2 separate regions of the Homo sapiens genome follow, and region 2 is linked to region 1. Evidence: promoter capture Hi-C in 16 types of primary human blood cells and fetal thymus (Javierre and others, 2016). All regions are on one chromosome and are shown on one strand. Each heading gives the region's core, a stretch centred on a gene start or on the middle of the fragment in contact. The rest is flanking DNA. Distances are from core to core; before and after follow the strand shown. Region 1 has its middle 93 kb from the start of MPHOSPH6. Region 2 holds the start of SDR42E1 (short chain dehydrogenase/reductase family 42E, member 1).

Evidence for each region. The method cuts DNA at HindIII sites, captures the fragments that hold promoters and counts their contacts. A CHiCAGO score of 5 or more calls a contact.
Region 2: a contact is called between the fragment with the promoter of SDR42E1 here and a fragment that was not itself captured in region 1, in 1 of 17 cell types (monocytes). The highest score is 6.0, in monocytes.

Annotation. Positions count from the first base shown.
Region 1 is chr16:82,261,305-82,265,768 of GRCh38, reverse strand. No RefSeq gene overlaps it. Among named protein-coding and RNA genes, the nearest start is that of MPHOSPH6, 93 kb to the right of the region's middle. The HindIII fragment of the contact is 623 bases long and covers 1,935-2,557 here.
Region 2 is chr16:82,008,932-82,013,395 of GRCh38, reverse strand. SDR42E1 (short chain dehydrogenase/reductase family 42E, member 1) reads left to right here and starts at 1,926. Exons shown (of 3, transcript NM_145168.3): 1 at 1,926-2,009. RefSeq lists enhancers at 1,582-1,661, 1,672-1,761 and a silencer at 2,002-2,151. The HindIII fragment of the contact is 9,437 bases long and covers 1-4,464 here.

The DNA.
Region 1 (4,464 bases), core at 997-3,496:
TATATCACAAAGAACTAGCCTGGAAAGAAAGAGGAAAGCCTCAAAATGAGATGGAGTATAAAACAACGTAAATGTTCTAAAACTCAAAAGATGTGTCGGCTAGGAAGGAAAAGCTAAAGACAGAAGATGCTGGAGGTCATTTGTGTGGGTTTACCTTTATCTTCATGGTAACTTCACTGCAATTCCTCTGTATCACTTGCTACAAGAAAAGGAACAGCAGACATTAAAAAGGCAAGAAAAAGGTTAAGTAGTATTTTCCTAGTGTGCATCCAAACATGATTAGGATCAGGCCTTTCCTAAAAACTAGAGTACCAAAATAAGATAAATAGTTTTTTTTTGTTATTTTGTTTTGTTGTTTTTATGGTTTTTTTTTTAACATATATTCAAACAAGAGGAAACAGGAGGATGCCAGAATTTGCAAAGCCAATCTAACCTGATGTAGCAGAAAAAAATCTTTGATTACACTAACTTGAGGTTAAACCTTAGAAGAACACATAATATAGGAAATGGGCAGTCCTAAAAGTAGCTGGAAAATGACAACATAAGTGATGTCGAAAGCTAAGGAATACTTCTTTCTGTGGGAGACCACGCTCAGGATCTAACCATTTTCCAAGCACAGAAGAGGCACTCTTTCTTGGGAACGCACCTTGTGGGGAATCACAGGGATTCCCTTCTTCTACCTCCCAACCCCCTAGAAGTCTCTGCCCTCAGATCCAGGCAGAGGAATCTGAAATGCTTACTTGGCTTCCCTCTTGGGACTTGCAGTCTCATTAAAAATGCAGAGAGAGCCTGGGAGGAAAGTAAAGCCCCATTAACTTGAAGGAGGACCATTGAAATTTCCCTGTGCACACAAGTCCTTGCCAGTGCGACCTTGGCCGTTTCCCGGCCTGGAAAAAAAAAAAAAAAAAAAAAAAAAAAGTGGCGACGGTCAAACTCTCTTTTCCATGGTTTGTTGTGAGAGCTCCAAGAACATGTGGAAACACATGGCACGTGGTAGATTCTCAATAGCACTAAGCTCTCCCTCCTGAAATAGAAAAGTGCGAGACACAGGGGAAGAAGTATAAGGGGGATAAGGGAGCAGAGGAGGGGAAAGGGTTGACTAGGGCTCCAGCTGCTCCTGCCCAAAAGGGAGCTACCAGGGAGCATCCTAAGTCAACTGTATTCCATGGCTGGAAGGTGGAGCCGGGAAAAAATGGGGAGCATAGAAGAGAAGTATCTTGATACCTCAACCCAATATAGTCATGTCTAGAAGGGAGACACTTTTCCCAGGGAATGTGTAGATGAGGTCAAGCTCCAATGAGAAGCTGTGAATTAACCATAATCTTCAGAGCCCAGAGCCTGGAGAGATGCTGATGGCACCCGGAAGTAGGAACTGAAGCTCTCCTACCCGTATTATCAGTAGAGCTTTTCCCTCTGTCAAATCAGAATCCTCTGGAGGGCTTGTTAAAGGACAGATTGCTAAACCCCAACCCAGCCTTTCTGATTCAGTAGATCTGGGGTGCAGGCCAAGAATGTGCATTTCTAACAAGTTCCCGTGTGATACTAGTTCTGCTGGTCCAGGGACCACACTTTTAAGAACCGCTGTGCTATACCTTTATTTAATATCCTTATGAGAGATCCTCAGCCTAAAGCTAACAGAGACTTTGAACAACTCCTCCTCCTATTGGCGCCCCTGCACTTGAGTTGAGACATTGTGCTAGCTGACGCCTGTGAGCCCTGCCAGCTCTGGTGTTCTGCGATTTTGCAAGGGTCTAACCAATTCAGTGCATTTACTGCTTAGCTCTGGGCTGGGAATGGGGAGAGAGCAGGCGTACAAGTGTGATTGAGCGACAAGGAGAATCTCCAAAAGACAGAAAGAGCAAATACTGCATTTTTTTCCTATTTCCCTAATTTTGTTCCATACTCTAAAGCACTCTCCTGACTTCAGCTAAGCTTGCCCTGGGATCCTGGGCTTGGCAGATATTTAAAATAAAGAATGAGCTGTTTGGCAAGGTAAAGTTTTCCTAAACGTCCTCCCCACCAAAGATTCTCAGCCCCTATGGCTGTGCTTCTGTGACTCAACAGTGACATCTGGTGGCCATGAAGGTGCATCCCAAGCCCTGATAACACCTGCTCGTGCTTCTGAAAACTACGGCACATACAGGGGATGCCCAAATTGCCGTAAATAAGCTCATTTATCAATCACATATAACATACCCCTACTATCTGCAAGCAAATTGTTCTCTTGGTTGAATGCGAAAAACATTAAAGTATCTGACTTCTATTTTAAATCTCTATTCATTGACCCATTTGAAAGGATACAATCCTTAGGAGGCTGACAACCCACTGTGGTTGATGCATCTTAACTAATATTCACATTTAAACTGTTTGGTTAAAGGAATGCGTCAAAGCATTTGGCAGTGGAAAAACAACACAGCCTAACTTTGCATGCAACAATTTGATCTAAGCAAATAAATAAGTTATTTTCATTTCCAGTTTAACGTAACAAGAATATTTCTACAAGATAATTTGCTTTCAAAAATTCTAGCTGTGAAGTTTAATAACAGAACATGAAGCTTCGTGTCATTTCATATTTATGCTCCAATCCCAGTTTTGACAGTTCCCATGGGCTCTGGACTGCTTGGCTAGAGATATTTTAGGCCATGTTTTCATAACAACAGGTAGAAAACGCAGCCCTAGAGCCAGGAAAAAATAAAGAGCCTTTAATAGGGTTTTAGACATGGGACTTGCTCACCTTTTTCTCCTCCTTGCTACCAGGCAAGTTTACAACTCAAAGAAATGGTCAAGTTTTCCCTTCCAGTCTCCTAAATATATGGTACTAGACGCCTGTTCCAAGCTCGCAGTGTCAGAAAAGTCCCTTCTCTCCCCGGATTGGCTAACAGCAATGGCAGCTAGCTGGTACTGATCAAGAGTTGATGCCATGCTGGGGGTTGTGCCCAAAGCATCATACGAAGCTGGCCAAATCTCCAGGGAATCACCAGGAAGGAAGAACTATGTGTATCTCATTTCACAGATGAGGTAATGGGGCCTAGCTGGTGAGGACCTTTGCACATGGTCTCACAGATAGCATGGGTTCTGAACCCAGACATCTAATTCCAGACTAGGATCAGCCCTGGCCAGGTGTGTCAGGGTGAATCTGACCCATCCTCACCTAGTCAAACCCTTCAAAGGGCAGCTTCACCATTTTCTCTTCCTGCCCTACATTTCCCACCACTCTCACACCCACAAACCCAGCCCCTTCCAATGGCATCAGTGCCTCTTGCCAGTGAAATCTCACCCTGCTTATCACTAGCCCTCCCACAGTCCACCCTTGCTTTAAGTGGGTGACATGAATGTTAAGCATCTTAAAGGCAAGACTCATGTCTAATTTGTGTCTATATTAATCCCAAGCGCTGGCACCGGACATTATAAGCAGTCAGCGGCCAGTACATGTTTGCAGGATGAACAGATGAATAAATGGACCTGGAGAAATGCACTTCCATGCTGTAAGAGATCCCTGGGGTCAGGAAGGGAGCTAATCCCATTGGAGGGCATGGACAGTGATGATGCTAACCCCCAAAGAGTGGACAGGGGAGTGGGAGCACAGGGAGGACATCTAAGGAATGTACTCAGAAGGCATCTCTATACCCAGGTTGTCACCAACAAGCAGAGTGATCCCACCACTGAACAAGACACCTTCAAGGCAGAGTCAGGCACTGCAGCATGAAGCCAAAACAGAGGACTCTGCAACCTTCCCCCTTTAGCCCCTCTGGTGGGGCATTTAGGAAATATACAGAACCCCCCTCTCTTCTCTAGCACAGAAGTACCACCACCCCTTTCTAGACTGTGAGCTCTTCGAAGGCACAGGCTGTTTGGTTCTCTGCTAAATCCTGGATATCCTTGACACCTAGAGGAGGTTCAATAGGTATTCTTAAAGCATTCAAGCCTTAATTTCAGCAGCCACTACAAAGCAGTGGTAAGGGAGAAATCTGTGTCATATCCAGAGCAACACCCAGAATTCCTCAGTCTTTTCTGAAACAGTGATGTATCCGTCTTCATATTTTGTAGATGCTAATTGTTGACAAGATGATTTGGTAGCTCAAAAAATTGGAACTGACACCGTCAACCTGTTTAATCCATTTACAATCTTTGATCATCAGTGCAAGGGACTTTGTCAACTGAGTGAGGCCAGTTTACCTTGTGAGGCCAGCATCTTGTTTCCTATTAGTGATGAGCATTACAAGTAAGTAGATTGGCTTAGCATGTTAAATAGCATCCAACAGCCCAGCAAAAATCACACGCTAATGTAAGAAAATAGAATCTGTGAAATAAGGAGAGGGAGGATTCAAGCCAATGCACATTTACTGAGCAAAAGTTTTGCTAACTAGCTTCGCCACCACTGGACTTGCTGCACCCCATCCTCCACAAATTGTCCAAAGTGATCTTTCTAAATGCCAATTGGCTCATATTGCCTCCCTGTTTAAA
Region 2 (4,464 bases), core at 677-3,176, 250 kb after region 1:
TCTGTCTCTATGCCAGACACTATAGTAGGTAGTGGAGATACACCAATCAATCAAGCAGGTCTCTGCACTCACGGAGCTTTCATTATAGCAACATGCAAGATAATTTCAGATGAGCTAAGTGCTGTGAAGAGATTGAAGAATTTCAAGGGGATGCAGGAGACTTTAAGTGAAAGTGTTGGGGAAAGCCAAGCTCTTACTTCCTCTTCTGTAGTGACCTTGGCAGCCAAGAGTTGAACATGATGGCATAACAAATGGGGGAAGCCTGGGTCCCTGAGTGATTATGTGGAGCACAGCACTCTTCCCCTTCCCTGCAGACTGAATTGGACTGTGATCGGAGTGAGAAATAAAATACTGCACACCTGTGAGTAATTGTGACAGCAAACTGATCTTTCTGAGATGCATCCACTGCCTGGACATATTATTGGGGGAAGACAATACTAAACAAACACTGATATACAAACTCACATTGAAGTTAATTTCTTTCTCCAGTCATTTCTGTCTTAGATCTCTTGGTCAGACCTTTATAAAATCAACTCACTAAATTATGATGGAAGCTAAGGAAGCAATTATAGAGTTTGTAATTTTCCTTTAAAACACGCCTGATTATATTTTAAAAGAGTCCTCGGTGGCACAAGAATACTAACATTTAAATTCACCATTTCTCATGTTTATCCACACACTCTAAATCTGGGTATCCCTCAGAGGATCCTGTAATTCCCCAAAGGAAGTCTGTCTTCTTTACTGCATCCTCAGTGGGTCTTTTCTTCCTTAGCTGCTGGCCTCAAGAGCATATAGCTGGTCTCTCAGCCCCCTGAATACCCTTCCTCTTCTCTTCTAATTTTTATGTATCCTAAGCAGCCACTGCAAAGCTGTTCTTTAAGACTGCTTAGCACAAGAAGTCTCCTGTGACTTATGCCTGCCTAATAGGTGAGGACAAGACAGGCAGGAAAGCCAGAGCATCCTATGAGAGAGGCCAGTGCCAGGGACTGGCACTTCTTGATTTCTTCACCTGGGCTTCATTAATTTTTATATCCTAGGACTTGAGCTTTGTCCTTGTGACTGTGTGTGCTTAGTGAAAACTGAGCAGTAAATCAGGCAATTGATATGAACCTCTCTGAGTCTGCCTTTGGTACCAGATCTATCGGCAAGAGCACCACATGAAGTCAAAACTTCCATCCTCCAAGACACTAAAATGAAATCCTCCCCAGCCAGGGGTCCATTCCAGGATGCATGTCCATACACGTGTACAGTCTGCAACCATCCACAGAACCACACTCATGATGAGGAGACAAAAGATGGGCCTCAAAAGGAGACCTCTGAGTGAGGATGCCAACTTTCCTTTCTGCATTCCTTGGTTCCTTCAGCAACAAAGATTAGTCTTGGCATCACTGCCTGCTTGGCGACCAGAACAAAGAGAAATAAGGAAAATTAGGGACACAGGAAAACCTATGGGCACACATAGATATGGAAACTCAGAGATAATAGAAACTTAAAGAGATACATGGAGAGTGAATATTCTGCCTCCCTATAGAGCCTTTTCCATCATCCATCCACCCAAGCAATGCTGACCTGAGTGCCTATTTATCAGGCACTGGTCTTGGCCTTGGGGATAAACAAAGATGGAGGTGAAAGTCTAAAAGCAGACACTGGAGGTGGGAAGAGCAGTTGACGTGGCCCTAACAGGGTTCCCACCACGGCGGAACGCACAGACAGGGGACGTGGGGGAAGACGTGACCCTAAAAGGGTTCCCGCCACGGCGGAACGCACAGCCAGAGAACGTGGGGGAATTCATGAAGCGAACCTCCTGCTACCTCAACGCCGGTGAAGGTGAAGGAGACACCTGCGCGTCATAGAGACTCCGAGACCTCCAGGCTTCCTAGAGAGGCCCGGAAGTGGCTCCAGGAGGCAGGTCCGACGGCTTCGGCGCCCCAGCTGTGGTGATGGGTAGCTAGGAGGCCTGGGCCTCTCTGCCTGCTGTAGCCGTCTGCCGCGCCCTTGTTCCTGCAGCTGTGAGTGGGCCTGGGCTGGGGTTGGGGGGCCGCCGCCCTTCCGCGGGGACCCTGGACCGCCTCGGCCTGGAACGCGACAGGTGGCGGTCCCGGGGGTGGGGGACGGTGGTGAATGACTGAGCAGGGTGGCGGGAAGGAGTATCCCCTTTCAGATGTCTTCCTGATCCCAGGGGACCGGGCGCAGCTTGGCTTTCTAGAATGTCGCCAAGGCCTCAAACACTGGCCCTCCGCATTTTTTGTTTTTAAGGACATCGGGGCCCCAAGCTCCGAACTTTCCACAGGTGGCTGGCTATACTTGATTCCTGTCTTTGATTTTCTGCACACTTTGGGAGAACGATTACCTCCTCTTTATCACTTGGTTCTGGTTTGCCACTTAAAAGTGGCAGTGACAGGTTCCCATTTAAACTGCATGTATTTGTTGGGAAAAGGTAAGTAGGTTTAAACAAAACCTTATAGGCTAGTCATAATACCAGATGAATCAGATGTGACAGAAATTGTGGAGGTGGAGTGAGCCCTGAAAATCTGAGACGGGTCTCAGTTCATTTAGAAAGTTTATTTTGCCAAGGTTGAAGACATGTACCCATGACACAGCCTCAGGCGGTCCTGACGATGTATTCTTAATGTGGTCAGAGCCCAGTTTCGTTTTCTACATTTTAGGGAGACATGAGACAAGAACAGATGTAAGATGAACATGTTTTTCGGTCTGGAAAGGCGGGACAACTCGAAACGGGGAGGGGGCTTCCAGGTCATAGGTAGGTAAGAGACAAATGGTTGCATTATTTTGAGTTTGATTAGCCTCTCCAAAGGAAGCAATCAGATATGCCTTTATTTTAGTGAGCAGAGATACATGAATAGAATGGGAGGCAGGTTTGCCCTAAGCAGTTCTCAGCTTGACTTTTCCCTTTAGCTTAGTGATCTTGGGACCCCAAGATTTATTTTCCTTTCACAGTGATAAGATAATGACCTAAGCGAATCTGTATTGTCCCAGCCTTATTGTGCGGCATTACATGTAGTGGTTAAGAGTCATACAGACCCGGCTTCAAGTCCTGAACCCTGCCCAACCCCTTATGACCTGCATAATTTGTGGGCAAGGTTCCTAACCTCTGATCTATTTTCCTCATTTCTGAAAGCTGATGATAATACTAGTAACAACTTCGGAAGATTGTCCTGAGGCTTAAATGCTAAACCTTTAAACTACCTGTATTAATCCATTCTCATGCTGCTAATAAAAACATACCCAAGACTGGGTAATTTATAAAGTTAAGAGGTTTGATGGACTCACAGTTCCACATGGCTGGGGAAGCCTCATAATCATGCCAGAAGGCAAAAGAGGAGCAAAGTCACATCTTACGTCTTATATGGTGGCAGGCAAGAGAGCTTGTGTAGGGGAACTCCCCTTTATAAAACCATCAGATCTTTTGAGACTTATTCACTATCAAGAGAACGGCATGGGAAAAACCCACCCCTGTGATTCAGTTACCTCCCACTGGGTCCCTCCCAGGACACGTGGTAATTATGGGATCTACAATTCAAGGTGAGATTTGGGTGGAGACACAGCCAAACCATATCATTCCGCCCCTGGCCCCTCCCAAATCTCATGCCCTCACATTTCAAAACCAATCATGCCTTCCCAACAGTCCCACAAAGTCTTAACTCATTTTAGCATTAACTCAAAAGTCCACACTCCAAAGTCTCATCTGAGGCAAGGCAAGCCCCTTCCACCTATAAGCCTGTAAAATCAAAAGCAAGTTAGTTACTTCCTAGATACAATGGGGGTACAGGTATTGGGTAAGTATACTCATTCCAAAAAGGAGAAATTGGCCACAACGAAGGGGCTACAGGCCCCATGCAAGTCTAAAATCCAGCGGGGCAGTCACATCTTGAAACTCCAAAATGACCTCCTTTGACTCCGTGTCCCATATCCAGGTCATACTGATGCAAGAGGTGGTTTCCCATAGTCTTGGGCAGCTCCACCCTTGTGGTTTTGCAGGGTACAGCCCCACTTTTGGCTGCTTCCAGGGCTGGCGTTTAGTGTCTGCTGCTTTTCTAGGTGTACGGTGCAAGCTGTTGGTGGATCTACCATTCTGGGGTCTGGAGGATGGTAGCTCTCTTCTCACAGCTCCACTAGGCAGTGTCCCAGTGGGGACGCTGTGGGGTGGTTCCAACCCCACATTTCCCTTCCATGCTGCTCTAGCAGTGGTTCTCCATGAGGGCCCCACCCCTGCAGCCAACTTCTGCCTGGACATCCAGGAGTTTCCATACATCCTCTGAAACCTAGGGAGAGGTTTCCAAACCTCAGTTCTTGACTTCTGTGTACCCACAGGCTTAACACCGCATGGAAGTTTCCAAGGCTTGGGGCTTGCACCCTCTGAAGCCCCAGTTTGAGCTGTACCTTGGCCCGTTTTAGCCACAGCTGGAGCAGCTGGGACGCAGAGCACCAAGTCCCTAGGCTGCA